Regions from separate parts of the Homo sapiens genome. Here all the other regions are linked to region 1. Evidence: promoter capture Hi-C in 16 types of primary human blood cells and fetal thymus (Javierre and others, 2016). All regions are on one chromosome and are shown on one strand. Each heading gives the region's core, a stretch centred on a gene start or on the middle of the fragment in contact. The rest is flanking DNA. Distances are from core to core; before and after follow the strand shown. Region 1 holds the start of LRRC8B (leucine rich repeat containing 8 VRAC subunit B). Region 2 overlaps LOC105378847 (a long non-coding RNA gene). Region 3 overlaps LRRC8D (leucine rich repeat containing 8 VRAC subunit D). Region 4 holds the start of LOC101927975 (a long non-coding RNA gene).

Region 1 (3,049 bases), core at 389-2,888:
TCATTTTTTTGGTGCTTAAAATCCATGATGGAATTTTTAATCACTATTTTAGACTTGGGTAAATCTGGCTGTGAAAGTAGTGACAGAGTCTTTTAGAATTTTCTTCTACCAAAAATAATTAATCAGAAAGTCCCTGAGAGAATTTCAGATACTCCTGTAAGGATCAAACCTAAATTTAAATTAGACTTGTAGATCTGTGCATACCCAGTGTCTCACACATATAAACTCAATAAAAATTTATCGAATGACCAAGTGAAGAAATGTTCTTTCAGCTTTTCCTTCAAGACTCAGAAAAAAGATATCTGCAGTTCCAGAATGGACTGAGTGAACAAGAAAAGAACAGATCAGTGACACAAAGACAGCCTTCTTTTTCCCTTTCAGGGTGACTCAAATTGTAGTCCTCATCTGAACAGTCTGAGACACAACTCTTGTCTCATATTAACTCGATAGGGCATTTGCTATACTCCCATTTACACAAACTGCTCAGATGCCCCAAATGCTGAGTCTGTTCGTCTTCATTTTATTCCTTTGGGAGATGCCGGTACAAACTTGTTTTTTCTTTCTTTTTTTAAATGGAGATGTGACCACCATAGCAACTAAAAGACATAAATCTTGCCTAATTGAATCAGTGTGCTCAAGATAATAGCCAGGGCAGAGACTGAGTTAAAACTGGGGTAAGGGTGAGAGTGGGGAAATGGATGAGGATGATAAAAATATTTATGTCCCTAGAATTTGTGGGTTTGGATTAATTCTGTTTCGTAAGGAATATTGTTGGCCTTCAAATGCAGTGCCACTTGGGAGAGAAGCAAGCGGGCAGTAGTTGAGGTGTCTCTGCAGTTGAATCGCAGTGAAAGGCAGGTTATGAGTATAGGGACCGCCCCTCGGCCATGTGGTCCCCTCCCTATCCTGAGGATAACGACATTTGAGAGAAGCCAATGGTATTGGAAGGCCAGAATCGAACTTAAGCCGCTTAGTTGGTACAACTGTAAACCCTCCCTCACAGAGGCTGGGCCCTGCAATCTTTCTAAGCAGGGTAAAGAAAAGTAAGGGGACTTCCTTTTCGAAGAGGAGGTTCCCGCGTGCTGCACCCGACCTTTCCCTCAGGGCCCAACACGCGTTATATAAATGCCAAGTTACTCAGGGACGCACACGTGAGAAGGCTGGGGCCCGACACACGCGGTGTAGTGCCGAAGTCACCGGTGTGGCGCGCCTGGGGGACACGCCGAAGCCCATTTCCCTCCCGCTTCTGGAAAGCAGTCCCCGCTCTTTCCAGCTGCTCCGCGGGGCGTATGGCTGTGCGCTACCTCCTGCGGACCCCAGGCTGGGCGAGGGGGCAGCGATGGCCACATGGCGCGCTCGGGGAGATGGCAGCTGCGCTTTGTTTCCAGCAGTGATAGGTGAGTCACTGGCTCCCGCAGCCCCAGAGCTGGGCAAACACTCAGGCCCAGGCAGCTGAAAAATTCACAGCAGGAGCAGCTACCGAAGCGACTGCAGCCTCTTCCTCCTCTTCCTCCTCCTCCTCCTCCTCCGCCACTGCTACCGCCACCACCGTGGTAGCCGCCTCCGCGCCCTGCCTCCGCCCCGTCCCCTCCTCCTCCACCCGCGAACTTAGTCAGCGGTTCGCGCCGCCGAGCGCCCATTGGCCAGCGGAACGCGTCGCGTCACAATGGAGCCGGTCGGAGGCGGCGAGCCGGACAGCGCCGGGGCTTCCCGCTGAGCCCGCAGCCTCCGGCAGCCGGGAAAGTGCGGGCGCGGGGCCGCAGCCTGCCCGCCCGGAGCGGCCCAGGAGCACGCCGCGGGGAGCGCGGGCGTCCGGGGCTGGAGTCGCGCAGGTAGGTCGGAGCGTGACACCCCGGTTCCAGGAGGGCGAGCCGCGCCGACCGAGGTGGTGGAGGAGGAGGACCGGATACGGGGACGCAGCAGGTGGGGCTGGCCGAACAGGTGCGGTTACCTGTTCACGCCTCACCTGCGAGCCAGGCTGCGGGCCGGTAGCGCGGCTGCAGAGACGAGTGGCCGCTTCGTTGTGCTCCCTGCCTTCGGGAGAGACGGAGTCCCACGCTGAGAGGACCTCTCCTGTGTGCTGGGGTCATTTGGAGCAAGAGGTGTGGGCGGTCGCGCCGAGACGGTCACCTCTCTTTCCCCCGGGAGTCTCGGCGTTGCACCTGAGCGTGAGTCCTCGGGGCGGGGCGGGAAAGGGGTTCCGCTTTCCCAGGCTGGCGTCTCGCTCCAGATGAGCGCAACTCCCCTGAGGGTGCCCCCATTTGGTCGCTCTGTTTTGCCCCCTGCGCTGGCGCTGTTGGGAACTATTTTATGCTCTTGGGAACTATTTTATGCTGTTGGATACGCGTTGGTTGCCTATAATTTGGTGGTGGTGTTGGGCGTTGATTTGTTTGAGAAAGAAAGGGCAAGCGTTACCAATTTAAGAAGAAGACTCAAGAGTTTCCCCTGAGCTTAGTTGAGCAGGTGCTGAGAGGTCAGAAGGGAGGAGGCTCAGTATTGGCTCATTAATCTGTGTGCTCAACTGACTTCCTAAAGTCCATAGATTGCCTTTAGTTAGATGACATTTGTGGAAAACTTTTTTTTTCTTTGTGGTCAAAAAGACACCCCTCTAAAAGAACAAAACCGACATGTGAACTTCCTTGAATAAATTCACTTCGCCTAAAGACTTCAAACAAACAAACAAAAAAACACTCCACTGGTAAAAGATAACAGTATGAACATTTTAAATTGTAGATATATAGCCAAATTAAAACAGGCAATTTGTTCAGCGTATATTAAGAAGACATTACGTAGCATGATTTTTATTAAAAGACAACCTATTTGCAAATGATATAGTAGTCTTTGCAGAACACCCCAGAAATCTTAAAACAGATTTATCTTTATCAGATGGTTCTGTCCCCTAAACCTAGGTGTAGGAGTGAGGATGGAAAAGAAGTCAAACTGCAGTGTAATTTTTTAAACAATTCCAGTACCCTCTATGTGTACAGGCTACACCTCCTGAGAACCCCAAATGCTCTTTGTTTTGTTTCTTTGTTTTGTTTTGAGACGG
Region 2 (3,049 bases), core at 368-2,867, 440 kb after region 1:
TGAAATGTATGTGGAAGCTGTAAAAGTCAAGATGCTTCACCATCTTATCTTTTTGTTGTCATGGCAACCAGCAATATTCCTATAGTGGTCGCTCTGTCAGCCCCAGGTCTGGAGTAAGGATGACAATGGTGTGGAATAAAGCTTCTAGCAGACAATGATAGAGAGTATAATGAATAAGAACTATATCTTCAAGTTTAAGTCATGGAAATTTTGAATTTACTTGTAACTGCAGTGTAGCCCAGCCTAGCCTGGCTGAAATACTGATAAATAACAGAAGTTCATGTTCAACAGTCCTGTTTCTTCAGATGCTGGATTAGCAGCTGTTGGGCTCAGAAAAGGCTACTCCAAAATATGGTGCTTTGACATGCTGAATGGAGGAAGCAGCCTCAAAATTCTCTCTGACCTCCCTGCACCCCGTCTCTTAATCCTCCATCTCTCCCAAAGCACAGGATGAAATTGTTATCTAAAGTTCCCGTATCTGCCTACAGTCCAGATCTGCCAAGGGAAAAAACAAATCCCTCTCATCCCTTCCCTGAGTTTTAATTAACTAAACTCATATCACAGGAAGAAAGACAAATCTGTTGGCCAGGCGCGGTGGCTCACGCCTGTAATTCCAGCACTTTGGGAGGCCGAGGCAGGTGGATCATGAGGTCAGGAGTTCAAGACCAGCCTGGCCAAGATGGTGAAACCCTGTCTCTACTAAAATAAAAATGCAAAAAAGTTAGCCGGGCGTGGTGGTGGGCGCTTGTAATCCTGGCTACTCAGGGCTACTCAGGAGGCTGTGGCAGAGAATTGCTTGAACCCGTGAGGTGGAGGTTGCAGTGAGCCGAGATCACGCCACTGCACTCTCCAGCCTGGGCGACAGAGTGAGACCCAGTCTCAAAAAAAAAAAAAAAAAAAAAAAAAAAAAAAGGACAAGTCTGTCAACAAACCTGGACAGCCTTTTGTCCCAAAACATTGTCTGCTTTGTGAGCCCAACAGGCTTTGTCTCAGGCCATTATATGTTCTTGGAGCCCATTAAATTCCCCTAAAAATCATTTACTAACCCCCTTACATCACTCATACTTCCCCATCTCCCTTTCTTCTAAGAAGAAAGGCATAAAAACATCTAGACCCCAATTCACGGAGAAAGAGGGGATAATATCTGGGATTTTCCTCCATGCACTTTAATAAATTTATATGCTTTCCTCCTATTAATCTGCCTTTTGTCAGCTGATTTTCAGCAAACCTTTAGGGGGCAAAAGGGAAGTTTTCCTTTGGCTGCTACACAGCTCTGAACTGATGAGGAAGAGCTACTGCGTGTAAGAGTCTGGCTACGAGCCAGGTGCCTTCCATCCTACATCTCAGTTCAATTCCACAATAAAATGGAAAGGCAGGTATTACTGAACTCATTTTACCTATAAAGAACCTGAGAAGCGAAGTGACTTGCCCCAGCTCATTGGCAAGCAGCAGAGCTAAGACAGGAAGCCAGGTTTTCCGAGTATAAAACCCAAGCAGAGTCACTATGCTGTACTGAGACCTCCTATTACTGATTATGAACCAAGGTAATTTTATCCTACTTGATAACTCAGATGTCACCTCCTCCTGAATTAGTCACTTTTATATGCTCCTCTTGTCTCTCTTCTTTTCTATTTTCTCCAAGAACTGAGCTGTGGGACGCTTACCCTCATGATATTCCCTTACTTTGAGATAACTGCGATTCTCTCACTTAATGGCAAGGAAAAAAATACTTGGAATGTGGCCCCTGAAAGGTAATGTTAAACATTTTATATACATTGCAATCTTGTTTAGTCTTTATACAAACTCATAACAGAAGTATTATAGATCTATTTTAAAAGTGGGGAAACTGAAAGAAGAAAAAACTGAGAAACTGAAGCCGTGGCAGGTTATATAAATTGTCTAAGGCAGAGGCCGGGCGTGGTGGCTCACACCTGTAATCCCAACAGTTTAGGAGGTCGAGGCGGGCAGATCGCCTGAGGTCGGGAGTTTGAGACCAGCCTAACCAACATGGAGAAACCCCATCTCTACTAAAAATATAAAATCAGCTGGGTGTGGTGGTGCATGCCTGTAAAGTCCCAGCTACTTGGGAGGCTGAGGCAGGAGAATCGCTTGAACTCGGAAGGCGGAGGTTGTGGTGAGCCGAGATGGTGCCATTGCACTCCAGCCTGGGCAACAAGAGCAAAACTCTGTCTAAAAAAAAAATTGTCTAAGGTTGGGTGAAGTTCAAGCCTCTATCCACCTGAATCCAAACTCCTTCCCCTTTACAGTTTCTCTTCCCACAGTAATATTTGCTGTGTCTCAATTCTTTTTTTTTTGGTTGGGGGTGGGAGACAGGGTCTCACTCTGTTGCCCAGGCTGGAGTGCAGTGATGTGTTCACAGTTCACAGCAGCCTTGAATTTCTGGGCTTAAACTATGCTCCCACCTCAGTTTCCAGAGTAGCTAGGACTACAGGTCCCAGCTAATTATTTTAATTTTTTACTTTTTGTAGAGATGGGGCCTTGCTTTTTTGCCCAGGCTGGTCTCGAACTCCTGGCATCAAATAATTCTCCTGCTTCAGCTTCCCGAAATGCTGGGATTACAGGTGTGAGCCACTGCATCCATGCCTGGCCCTGCTTTCAGTTCCATTAGCACTTGGAATTCCCTCACCTCTATGATGGCACTCAAAGAAATGGATCTAAACTATGGCATTTGGACATTCTTGAGCGGGCTCTACTAGCATTTAATGAACTGAGACCATGGAGGAGAGACATGCTGCCATAGTGAGACAGCCCATACAACAAAGAATTTTCTGTCATCATATGGGATCTTCTAATGTCCCAACAGATAAAGGTTCTTGTACATGGAAAACCTGTTTATATTTCCAAGCCTAAGGTCTAATTCCATTTTATATACAAATATGAACCATTTAGGAATGCAATCACCAGCTAAACAAAGGGAAGATTGTACTGTGTTTTGTTTGGACTTTTCAAAAAATGATCACCACTTCAGAAAATATATCACCTATTGCAATACTGCTCATGGTATTTGACTCACTATAATGCCACACGT
Region 3 (3,049 bases), core at 167-2,666, 350 kb after region 1:
GCAATTTTGGTGAAGTGTTCTTAGAAACAGTGTGTACAGGCTTCTGTAATTGTACAGGGGAGAGATCATAGAGATCCAGGGAACATCAAGATACTAATTCAACCTGTCCTCTTTGAAAAATTTGACCCCCTCCCCTGTAACTCAACAACCCCTCAAAGCTGTCGATGCAAAGTTGCAAAATAACAAAGGCTTCTGTATTAATTTCTGTGTTACAGCCTTCTGGGAAGAGAATGCTGGGAGAAAAAATATTTCTAAATGTATAATTGCATATATACACTTTTTAGGTTCTCCTTGTATTTTTAATGACCTAATACTAGAACATTTTGATAAGTTTAGTTCTTAAACAGAACTACCAAACACAAAAGCCAGCTGGAGGCAGCAAATGACTAGGTGGATGTTGAAGCTCATGACTTCCTTTCAGTGGCCTCTTCTTTGTATACAGCTCCATGTTTATGTCCAGATGGACTGACTATATTGATAGGTTCCAGATAAACAATGGACACATTAGAAGAGGGGTGTTATCATCAAAAACTAACAACTGAAGAGTTAAAATATGAAACATATCTTTGTCATGTAGGATTGAAAACTATCATATTTTATTGAATCAAATTTATGGCATGTTTCTCGTAAACCTAAATTTTATAATCCTGTCTGTTAAGTTGGTTGGCAAAGCCCAAATGTTTTCCCTTACATTCCTGAAACAAATTTATAAAGTCAAAGAATCAGCCATATCATAGCAAATTTAGAGTGCCGTTTGATAATGAACGACCTAGTAGGTCATTAATCTTTTCTATGGGCAGTGTTTTTTTTCCTCATCAGCTGCCTAAAGTATTTGGGAAATTGTATCTTGTGGGAGTTGCCATTCATCAGGAAATGCTTGTTCATAGATCTAAGCCAGACCACATGTAGCAGTAAATGTTATTTATCACTATGGAAACCAAAAATCACAAATGGGATAGTCTAAGTGTTAAGCATTCTGCTTCCTATGGCAGTAAGTCATACCCAAATTTGGTTCACTTCACTCAAATATTTGTGAGGCACTTAACGATTAAAGGGTTTGTAGGTACTTTGTTTAATGAATAAATTTCTCCTACACAAAGCTGAAAACATCATAAAGGGAAAAACTAGGAGGAAGAGTTGCCAGTTTATGTGGCTTATCAAGCTCATAATTGTAGACCCCTAAATTCGGAGGCAGAGGACTAGAGTTTTAGCTGTGGTGCTGCCAGAAGCTAGCTGTGTAGCTTTGAACTAGTTCTCTAACTTCTTTGGAACTCAGTTTTCTCATCTATAATGAGATGGAGTTGGATTCTATGACCTCGAAGTGTGAATCTGTTTTCCTTTATTATTCCTTGAGAAGTAAGAAACTATTTGTGTGTGTGTGTGTGTGTGTGTGTGTGTGTGTGTGTGGTAAGTGGGGCATAATATTTGGATTCATTATGTCAGGAGTAGTGAAGTTTACTATTACCCTTCAGTGACTTTATCACCTAAAAAAAGAACAAAAACCCATGCTTAGTAAGGATAGGGTCCACATGTTGCCATTTATCTATGGATTCTGCCTTCCTCTCCACTCAGTATGTATTGACAAAGGATGTCATTATTATCTAGCAATGATGAAGTATTGCAATAATCTGAATTGTAGATGTTGAATTGACTCGTAGCCAAAAGGTGGCATTTAAGGAGTATAATTGCTGTTCATAGATAAAAGTAAGAATAATGACTTAAGCAGTAATCCAAAAATGTTAAGAAGTTGGTGGAAGAAGAGGCTGGCTGAATTGATGAGTGAGAATGTTTATTCATAAATTCATTTAATTCTTAGTTCTACTGAGACTTTACCATGATTGTCATTGCAGTAGTTCCTATACAGTGGGAATATGTTCCTATAATGGGAATTTGAATCATTCAGTGTTGCTGATCTGGTTGTATCTGGACGAGGCAACTTCTCTTACCTGTTGTCTCATTATTTAGTGGGGGGAATATCTATCCCATCCTTACTTCTCAAGAATAATATGAGGATAAAAAAAACCTGTATAAAGCTACAAACCAATATTATTTTGTACAGGTTAAGTAGCCCGGTAGAATCTTTTGGAATTGATTGAAAATACAAATGCCTTTTTGACAGGCATTGCTGTTGGATTTTTTTTAACATGGGAGAAGTTTACTAGATTTCAAATTTTAAAATATGCATGGGATTGAAAGTTAGAAGCTCTGAAACATTTAACTATCTGGTCTTTACAAAATATCATAATAGGTGTCCATTAAATGTTCTTCATTCACTCATTCATTTATTTTATAGTTTTTGATCATTTGCTGAATGCCAAGCAGTGTTTTAGAAGCTAGATTATACAGTTGTGAATATAACAAAATCCTTATCCTTATGAAGACCATATAGTAGATGAGTCTGATAAGCATGTGTTTCATGGATATCTATTAGATATCCTTTAATAAGTGCTAATAACAAAATTAAGCAAGATAAAGAGATAGGGCAATGAGAGAAGGGGGTGTTACATGGTCAGAGAAAGCCTTTCATATACAACAGTGTAACTTCCACCTCTTTTAAGGTCTTCTTTATTTCTATATGTTGTCATCTGACACTGTACCCAACACATAGAAGGTGCTTATTAAATGTTTAAATGAAATTTTTATTTATTTAACAAACACTTATAGAGGACTTACTCTATGCCAAGCAGTGTTCTAAGTGCCTTGCAAATATTATTTTATTTGATTTTCACAAGAACGCTTTGTATACTGTTTCATTTTATGAGGAAACTGAGGCACCAGGATGTTGAGGAACTTCCGCAAGGTCACAGCTAATAATGAATGAATCAGTTTGTAAAGGAATTTAAAAAATAAAGATTCTTAAAGGTTCTTAGTGCCACCTCTTGCTTTCAGGAACACCAGATAGGGTGGGACTCCATATTTTGGGATCATGTTGGGTAGGGAGCATGTCAGCCCCTGAGGTCCTTTTGAAAAGCTCCTAATACCTCTACCTCCCAGGCCAGGCAGATACCACTCTTCTCCAGGCTTCCATCCACTCAGAGCTCTTTCCTGC
Region 4 (3,049 bases), core at 306-2,805, 260 kb after region 1:
GTGAGATGCTGTCTATAAAAGTAAATAAATAAGCCAAGGGCGGTAGTTCACGCCTGTAATCCCAGCACTTTGGGAGGCTGAGGCAGGCAGATCATGAGGTCAAGAGATTAAGACAATCCTGGTCAATATGGTGAAACCTCGTCTCTACTAAAAATACAAAAATTAGCTGGGCATGGTGGTTCACATCTGTAGTCCCAGCTACTCTGGAGGCTGAGGCAGGAGAATCGCTTGAACCCGGGAGGCAGAGATTGCAGTGAGCTGAGATCGCGCCACTGCACTCCAACCTGGCAACAGAGCGAGACTCTGTCTCAAAAAAAAAAAAAAAAAAAAAAAAAAGTAAATAAATACATGAAAATAAAATCTGTGATGTGGCCCAAGGCTTGTTTCTCACCTTCTCACCAAGTCTCCGGCCTTTCTATGCTGTTTCTTTCTATGCTGTTTCATACATCAGCTCCTTTACCCTTCTTGTTCTCCCTTAGGCATTACAAAATTAAGTTAACTGTACTCTGCCCAGGGTGGCTGGCTCTCGACATTGCCCTGAATGCATGTGCTGGTTCTGCTTCCCTGCCACTGGGTAGGACATACTGTACACCTGGAATAGCTTCTCCTTTCTCCCAGCCTAGCTGAATATTCCTCACCTTTAAACCCTAAAGAGAGACTCTCTCCACCACGAAGGCTTACACGTAACACTTTGTTCAATTGTTTGTAACAGAAGCTCAACTACATTATTTTAACCAAATAGGGGTTTGTTTTCTCACACACCAAGAAGTCCAGAAGCAGACAGCCCAGGACTCTTACAGCTGCTCAGGGAAATCACCAAGGACCAGGCTGCTTCTAACATCCTTATCTGACAACCCCAGCGACTGGCTTCAGTCCTCATGGTGGTAAGATGGCTGCTCTACTCTATGTGTTGTGTCTGGGTCCCAGGCAAAGAGAAGGGGCAGGAGCAAAGGGTCCAAGGTGCATGCCAACTGAGTCTGTGCCTTTGTACCAAGAAAATAATCGCTTTCCTGGAAGCCCCACTCACTGGACTTCCTCTGTCATCTTGCTGGCCAGAACCTGATTGGGTGGCCACCCTTACTGGGCACATGGCTCTCCTAAACAAAACCGGCATGCTATTAGAAAGGAAGAGGAAATGGTAGAAGATGAGATAAACAACCAGCGGTGCCTACCACTCCTTCAGTCTATTCCAGTCCATTGGAACTTTACCCTCCTTTGAGCAACTGTTTACAGTCTTCCCGCCTTATCCTCAGGGGATACTTTCCAAGACCTCCAGTGGATGCTCGAAACCAAGGATAGTATCAAGCCCTATAAATACTGTTTTTTTCCTATATATACATACCTATAATAAAGGTTAATCTATAAATTAGGCACAATAAGAGATTGACAATTATAACTAATAACAAAATAGAACAATTATAACAATATACTGTAAGAAAGGTTATGCAAATGAGGTCTCTCTCTCTCAAAATATCCTATTATACCATACTCACCCTTCTTCTTGTGATGTGTCCATGGCTGGATGTCAGGAGCAGACAATGTCAATAACTCACAGGTAGGTAGCACATACAGTGTGGATACACTGGACAAAGGAGTGATTCATATCCCCACAGGACAGAGTCGGACGATGTGAAATTTCTTCATGCTGCTCAAAATGGTATGTAATTTAAAACTTATGGATTATTTCTGAAATGTTTAATTTAATATTTTCAGACTATGGCTGATCATGGGTAACTGAAACCATGGAAAGAAAACTGCTGATAAAGAAAATACTGTATTGCAATTTGTGGGCAGCAAAAGTCCATGTCTATATCCCCCATAATAGAGTGCTGAGCATACAGTAAATGTTCCACTTACTAATACCACAAATACGTACAGGCAACATGGCATCATGGTTACTACTTAGTAGCCTGTGTTTGAATCCCAACTCAGCCACTTACTATTTATTAGTCCCGTCAACTTGACCAAGTTACTTAACCTCTCTGTTCTTCAATTTCCCCATCTGTACAATGGAAATAATGTGTTAATACATATAGGCAACCCTTGGCATCCTGGGGATTGGTCCCAGGACACCCCTCATACCAAAATCTGTGAATGTGCAAGTCCCTTATATAAAATGGCATAGTATTTGCATATAACCTACTCATATCCTCTCATATTCTTTAAAGCATCTCTAGATTACTTACAATACTTGATCCAATGCTTGCACATCATTTTATTCATGTAGATTCAATGTAGTACTCAGTGCATGGTAAATTCAAGTTGTGCTCTATGGACCTTTGTGCAATTTTTTTCCCCCAAATATTTTTGATCTGAGGTTAGTTGAATTTACAGATGCAGAACCCACAGATATGGAGGGTTGTCTGTACTTTATGCAGTTGTTATAAGGATTAAATTAGATTAACCCTAATATTAATTTAATAAATTAACTTCAATAGAACAGCTAGAATAGTAAGCACTATGTAAGTGTCTGTTAAATGAACACATGATTGTCACCTATGGTTAAAACATTACCAGAAATTGAGACCCAGAATTTGACAAGTTAGAGCATCTTCATGGACAAAAGGGACAGAATAGTGGAAGCCAGGACTGTTGAGGTCAATTAGGATGCATGGTATAACCGCAGGTGAGACATCAATAAGGGAACCTAGCGACAGGTGGGTCAGAGTTGAGGCTTTAAGGTCAGGCTGCCAAATTCAGCCACTAGCTTCCTACTTATTAACTGTGTTCCCTGGGCAAATCACTGAATCTGTCTAAGGGTCAATTTTCTCATATGTAAAAATAGGATAAAAATAAACAGAGCCTCTCCTTAGGTGTGTTTTGAAGATTAAATAGATTATGTAGGGTACTTAACATTATTCATGGTATGTCTGAATAAATGTTCATTTTGTTAACGATCAGGACCTATAATTGAGAGGCCAACTGGACCATTTGACCTTGGCTGAAGGGGACACAGGAGTGCAGAATGAAGTTTTGCCATGAACGTAGATCCTCCCTTACAAATCCCTCCATTTTCAAACCCGAGGTGAGAAGATAGAGCTGAGGGAAA

The links. The method cuts DNA at HindIII sites, captures the fragments that hold promoters and counts their contacts. A CHiCAGO score of 5 or more calls a contact.
Region 2: a contact is called between a fragment that was not itself captured here and the fragment with the promoter of LRRC8B in region 1, in 1 of 17 cell types (total CD4 T cells). The highest score is 5.9, in total CD4 T cells.
Region 3: a contact is called between a fragment that was not itself captured here and the fragment with the promoter of LRRC8B in region 1, in 1 of 17 cell types (non-activated CD4 T cells). The highest score is 5.0, in non-activated CD4 T cells.
Region 4: a contact is called between a fragment that was not itself captured here and the fragment with the promoter of LRRC8B in region 1, in 3 of 17 cell types (non-activated CD4 T cells, activated CD4 T cells and total CD4 T cells). The highest score is 7.1, in non-activated CD4 T cells.

Annotation. Positions count from the first base shown.
Region 1 is chr1:89,523,191-89,526,239 of GRCh38, forward strand. LRRC8B (leucine rich repeat containing 8 VRAC subunit B) reads left to right here and starts at 1,639. Exons shown (of 6, transcript NM_001369817.2): 1 at 1,639-1,832. RefSeq lists a silencer at 1,503-1,962 and an enhancer at 2,664-3,049. The HindIII fragment of the contact is 21,216 bases long and covers 1-3,049 here.
Region 2 is chr1:89,965,547-89,968,595 of GRCh38, forward strand. It overlaps LOC105378847 (a long non-coding RNA gene), which reads left to right. Exons shown (of 3, transcript XR_001738142.2): 1 at 1-1,751. Among named protein-coding and RNA genes, the nearest start is that of ZNF326, 28 kb to the right of the region's middle. The HindIII fragment of the contact is 2,957 bases long and covers 140-3,049 here.
Region 3 is chr1:89,873,075-89,876,123 of GRCh38, forward strand. All of the region lies in intron 2 of LRRC8D (leucine rich repeat containing 8 VRAC subunit D), which reads left to right. Among named protein-coding and RNA genes, the nearest start is that of LRRC8D-DT, 53 kb to the left of the region's middle. The HindIII fragment of the contact is 3,292 bases long and covers 1-3,049 here.
Region 4 is chr1:89,785,958-89,789,006 of GRCh38, forward strand. It overlaps LOC107985744 (a long non-coding RNA gene), which reads left to right. Exons shown (of 3, transcript XR_001738140.2): 2 at 743-884; 3 at 1,614-2,341. LOC101927975 (a long non-coding RNA gene) reads left to right here and starts at 2,413. Exons shown (of 2, transcript XR_001738141.2): 1 at 2,413-3,025. The HindIII fragment of the contact is 5,480 bases long and covers 1-3,049 here.